Regions from separate parts of the Homo sapiens genome. Here region 2 is linked to region 1. The links are contacts of gene promoters, found by promoter capture Hi-C in blood cells and fetal thymus (Javierre and others, 2016). All regions are on one chromosome and are shown on one strand. Each heading gives the region's core, a stretch centred on a gene start or on the middle of the fragment in contact. The rest is flanking DNA. Distances are from core to core; before and after follow the strand shown. Region 1 holds the start of ZFY (zinc finger protein Y-linked). Region 2 has its middle 100 kb from the start of LINC00278.

Region 1 (3,199 bases), core at 209-2,708:
AAGAGCCTTTTAAATCTTTCTTAGCACCTAGCACTGTCCAACGCTCACATTACTGTGCTCCAATTTTCCAGCAAAGTTGTACAAAATGCTAACAAAAGTATTTTGAAGATGAAACTGTATAAGAAATTTCAAATAAAATCTCAATGTCATCATGGGTATATGAACCTACAAGTAATGCATGAATTGTCTTTCAAAAAGAAAAATACCTCTTCTGCCTATTTTCCATCTCTTACTCAAAAAAAGTACACGGACTAAAAAAAAGCTCGCTCGTTTAAATACAGCTCATCAAAAAAGTGTTTCCACATAAATGGGAAAAGTCGCCTTGGGGAAATTTTATTCCTCTGCCCTCGTGCTGTATAATTTGTACTGTACTGTCTATTGGACGAGTGCCTAATAACTTTTTCATAATAAATTCCAGTTCTATTTTGCAGATCCTCGAAGAGGCAATGATGGTTGAAAAATAAGCGCATCGAAGGTCCCCGAACAGCCACATAATGACTTTAATTAGGGGAAAATAAAATTTTCTGGAATTTATGTGCTCTCGTGAGCCTAGATGCCCGAATTGCCACCTGCTGAAACGGGTGGCTGTAGACTCTCGGAAGGGCACAGAGCCGGGAGCGCTGAGGGGCGAAATGACCCCGGCGCCCGAACGGACGCCTGCGGCATGTCACCTAAAGCGTAGCCGACACTGCACCCAGCCAAGGATGGGCTGTGAGGGGAAGGCCGAAAGGTGGCGCTGCCGCAGGCGTCTGGAACGTACGCGCGCATATGGCGACAAAGGCAAGGGCCGCCAAGGGAACGAGCACGCCCTGTTGCGCAGACACGCCGTCGCGCCGGAGGCTGCGCTGCCGCCGCCGCCGCCGTCCTTTTCCCCATCCCCGCCTCAAGGATCATAACCGAATTTTTTTTCCAGATACCGCCTTCAAGATGGCGGCTCCGCCTCCCGACAACACTCTCAATACTCCCCAGCAGCAGGCGCCTAGCAGCCGCCATCTTGCCCCCCCGTCCCTCCTCCCCTTCGCGGACATTTACATAGCGAAAATAGGCCCAGCAGGCCTCCGGCCTTCACCTCACGCCTGCAGCCTTCGCCTTCTCGCCCCCGTGCCGTGCCCTGCGTCCGCAGTGGTGTCGACCCCAGGTCCATCAACTGCCTTCCGGACAAACGGGCGAACTTTTCCCACCCTGCCCGCTTATGGAGCGCACCTCCGCAGCCGCTCAGGGCAACTGGATAATCACTAGGCCTAACTGCGGCCTCCTCGGGGCCTGTTCGGCGCCGAGCGCCACGCCGGCCGGCCTAGCGCGGGAGGGCGCCCTACGGGACGCCGACCAGGCCACAAACAGGTTACTGCGCGCGCACTAGGCCCCGCGGCCGCGGGGGCACGCGGGACTCACCCGACGGATGTGCGGGCGGTCGGCGACAGCGGCGGGTGCTGCAGGACGGCCTTTCTCTGGAGCACTGGGCCGGGCTCCGGCTGGTAGGGCGGGCGGAGGGAGGGAGGAGGGGCCGAGTTCGGAGCTGACAAAAAGCGGCCCAGCTCCCCGGCACGGGCCCGCCGTCAGCACGTCACGTCACCGCCCGGGAGAGAGACCCAGGAAAATGCGGGATGGTAGTTGGGCCCCCTCCGCCCGGTGGGCCTCTCGGCGCCCCGGGTCGGCGCCGGTCACGCCCCGAGTCCGGGGAGTCCAGTGACCTCACTGCGGTGGGGTCTCCGGCAGCTGGAGTTTCCGTCACAACGTTCCTTTTCTCCGCGCGCCCGCCGTCACCACTACTTGCGCACCACCGCCTTAGTTGGTTGCGTGCAGGCAAGCGGCCCCGCACCGGGCCAGGCCACCCCCTGCCATCTCCGGTGGACCTGGGATTCCTAATCTCCCACACCCTGCGCCAGGCTCTCCCGAGACCTATCGCCTCTCGGCGCCAGTCCTAGCCAAGGCGACAGATCTCATTGTTGCAGGCCCTTAGACCCCCGCCCTCAGTAAACGTGTTTACTTTATTCCTAGGGTTGAGGAGGAAAGCAGATACAGACATATAGCATTCCCCACTGTCTCCTTTGTTGGCTTTAAAAAAAAAAAAAAAGAAAGTAAATGGACTTGCCACAGTGTACAGGCAAGAGGAGGGGAGGATTATCCTAATCAATTACTGAGCCAATTGATTTTTTTTTTTGCGTTAACGTAGGTATTTTGACCAAGATTTGTAATGTCTAGTGTGTGTTCTTTATGGCAGTGTTTCATCTTTTGGCATCCTTGAAATGTCAGTTTTGTGTAATTGTCTCATGAACAATGAATTATGCACACCCTTTAATAAATGTAAACTAACAATTGGTTTTGGGATTGTCTTCTTACAAAATTATTTATCCTCTTAAAGTTTAAAAAGGCTTTAGAGACTGAGAGGAAAATGCATTTGATTAAACAGATAGTACTGATGAACTCCAAAAACGTGTATTGTGCGTTTTCATTACTTTACGTTTTAATGCACTCTAATTTCCCATTAAACTAGGTACCCAAACTGTGTTTAAAAGTTGCTACTAAAAAGTTAAACATGCCTATCGCGGTCGCTCACCTCTGAGCGCTTTGGGAGGACAAGGCTGGAGTATCGCTTGAGGCCAGCAGATACAGGCGGACAGCTGTGATCAAGCCACTGCACTGCAGCCTGTGGGCCAGAGCCGGTAATCTCTAAATGTAGAGGCCAGGTATTTCAGTTTTCTAGCATACCTATTTTTAAAACTCAGAAATCATCTTGTCCTTAACTGAGAAACCTAAAAATCATAAAATGCTTTACGAAAGGAAAACCAGTGGTACATAGTTGATATAATGAGTTAAGTGCTGGATAGCAATTCTCTTTTCAAACCATTGGTTTGACCTTGTTTTCTCAAGTCGTTACCTTTTGTTTCAAAAATGATAAATGAGAGGCGGCTCACCCCTGTAATTCCAAAACACTTTGGAAGGCTGAGATAAAATCAGCTTGTGCTCAACTGATAGTTGGAGACAAGCCTGGAAAATAGGGCGATCCATCTGTACAAAAAAATTGAAAAGTGCTGGGTGTGGTGGAACACGCCTGTAGTCCCAGCTATGGGAGGCTTAAGCCCATTTGTTTGGGCTATGATTGTGATACCACACTCCAGCCTTTATGACAGAGCAAGATCTTGTATTTAAATAAATAAAATCTTGTTTGAGAAATTTTCATCAAGTTAAGACAATGTAT
Region 2 (2,894 bases), core at 220-2,719, 170 kb before region 1:
AGTACCATAAAATATAGTTTTTCTTAAAAGAAGAATCAGTCTAAACAAAGAAATTACCCCACCGCCAAGGAAAAGGGCCTTCAAATTGCCTATCCAGCAGCATTGCATAATTGCTATGAATCTTTCATTCTCCTTTATTCTGAATGGGAAATTTTTATTGTCATGATTTTGTTCCAGCCCCATTATTTTATATTTGGTGGGGTAGCAAATAAATTGTTTTGTAATTTTGTGCAACCCTGGGCCATAAAAAAATACCCAACTAATAAAATAACTGTGGTTCACTGGGTTTCACGTAAAAAAAAAAATATATTGTCCTAGATTCTGGTTTCACAGATTTATCTTTTAAAGTTATCCCTAAAAGAATATATATAAATTTTGTGCAATTTCCTATACATGTGTTATACTCCTCAATGAAAGCTGAAATTTTAAAAAGAGGAAAATTGAAAAAATTGGAATTAGAAACAAGTTAACATATATCTACAAAAATGATGCCAGTAGATCTACAGAATTATTTTAAATCTATATGCAGTGTTCAGAGGTTTTACCAAAACCACAAGAAAACAGGAATTGTTACAGTAAAATAATACAAAATAATATGGCAGGCAAATACTAATTAAAAAAGAGCTACTTTGGTTATATTAAAATCAGATAAAATAAATTTCAAGGCCCAGTGAACAAGAGATGATGGGGTTCAATTTGTCAGGAAGATATTAATATAATAGTTCTAACCTGACAGATCTGTATGATATACATTCATGCATGTACACACATACTTATATCTATGTTTATATTGATATATAGTTATAAATATATACAGATGACCTCTACTTAACTATGGTTCAACTTATGATTTTTTGCATTTGTGATGGGTTTATTGGGGTGTGACCTCATTGTAAGTCAAGGAACAGCTGAACTTATGATAGTTCAACTTAATATTTTTTTTTACTAACAATGTGTTTACTGGGGTATTAAATGCATTGTGATTTCCAAAATTTTTGAGTTATTATGAGTTTATCAGGGCATAAATCTATCATAAATCAAGGAGCATCTGTATATGTGCAAAATATGCTGAAAGTTACTACATCAGTGAGGATTTAAAAACATATCTTTCAGTAATTGATGGGTGAAACAGGTAAAAATTGTGATTAAGAATATTTGGGTAACATATAGTAAGAATGATCAAATGAGTATATATAGAACACTATACCAAAGAACTGACGAATATACAGTTTCAAGAAACAGGAAACATTCATGAAAATCAACAATATAATAGGAAATAGAGCAATTCTCAGTGGTTTTCCAATATTAATTTCATACACATAATAATATCTAACTGCAATGTTATTAATTTTTAAATAATACAAAGATAACTCACAATATCATAAGCTTGGAATTTTAAAAACACTTTTCTACATAAATTAATGCTAAATAAAAAATCCCAGTGGGGAATAAGTGATCTTTAGAATTGAAGAAAATAAAATAATATTACATATCAATAATCATGAGATGCATTTAATGCAAAAAGTGAAATATTTCTGGTAATTCAAGCTTAAATTTGAACAATTCTTACAGATTATTTTTAACTGAAGTCAATCCTGAAATTTTAAATGGAAGTACAGTCAAGGAACCAAAGGCCAAAGAGCCAAGTATAACCCAGAAGAAATAAGATACGAAAATTTGCTATAGCAGTGATTAAAATTTACTATCAAACAATTGCAATTAACACTGCATGGTGTGAGTGCAAGGATTGAAAGCTAAAAACACGTTAGAGAGTCAAGAAATAGACCTGCAAAAATATGAACACCAGATATTGTATAGAGGTAAAAGTATAGACTAGTCAGTCAGTGGCCCTGAGATAAGTATTTATCCGGAAACTATAAAGCAAGCAAAATAGTGTATCCGTCATGACATATGCAAAAGTTAATTTCCAGTATATCAGAGACTTAAATATGAAAGGCAAATTTAAATAATTTTTTCAGGAATATAAATGGAGGTATTTTTCTGATATATAGATAATTTTTAAGAGAAATAACATACTTAAGTAAAAGAAACTAGTAAGTATTGATAAGTTAATCTATTTTGAATTGTGGACTTTTCATCATCAAAAGACGCCATAAAAAGAATTTTCACGCTGAGAGCAGATCTTTGCAACATAAAAAACCAGTGTAGGATTAATGTCCATAACATATTAAGAAATTCATATAAACCAAAATGTCAAACCACCCAATTAAACTGCAGGCAAAAGATGCAAACAAGTATTTTATGGAAGAGAAAATCTGAATAGCAATAACATATAAAGGTGATCATCTTGTAACTGATGCAGTCATTCCATTTTGGAAACAAATAACTATTCTTTCTTTTACGATACCTAATTGTGTGCTTGCTTAAGAATTCCAAGAACTAACCCCAAGATAAAACCAAGGCTGTGAAATGTTCTTAATGGAAAAAAAATACTGAGCAGTTAATCTTCAATCTTATTAGAGGTTGGATGATGCCAGCTACACCTCTTGATGCCCATTCCTCATGACAGTCGTTGGAAAAAGACATTCTGAAATGCATAGCTAACTCCTGCACATAGTTTCCCAAGCCCTTTCCCCTTTAAAACCCCTATGTCCAGGCTGAGAAACTTGAGATGGTCTTTGCTATGCAAGTCCACCATCTCCTTGGATTGTCAGGTCCTGAATAAACCTGCTTTTCTCTTCCACCAACGCTTGCCTCTCAAGTTTTGGCTTTCAATTGGCAAACAACTGAACCTGAGTTCAGTTACAATCTCATTACTAATCAGGAAATTAAAACCACTGCGTAATACATTTACAATCTGATTTAAAGTATTACTCAATCATGTGAAGCCAAGGGAGCTATGGAAATGTAAAATGTTACAACTGTTCTAAAAA

The links. The method cuts DNA at HindIII sites, captures the fragments that hold promoters and counts their contacts. A CHiCAGO score of 5 or more calls a contact.
Region 2: a fragment that was not itself captured here is called in contact with the fragment with the promoter of ZFY in region 1 in 8 of 17 cell types (total B cells, non-activated CD4 T cells, M0 macrophages and 5 more); the score reaches 12.3 in total B cells.

The regions. Positions count from the first base shown.
Region 1 is chrY:2,933,640-2,936,838 of GRCh38, reverse strand. It overlaps ZFY (zinc finger protein Y-linked), which reads right to left and starts at 1,458. Exons shown (of 8, transcript NM_003411.4): 1 at 1,070-1,458. The HindIII fragment of the contact is 5,223 bases long and covers 1-3,199 here.
Region 2 is chrY:3,104,304-3,107,197 of GRCh38, reverse strand. No RefSeq gene overlaps it. Among named protein-coding and RNA genes, the nearest start is that of LINC00278, 100 kb to the right of the region's middle. The HindIII fragment of the contact is 162 bases long and covers 1,389-1,550 here.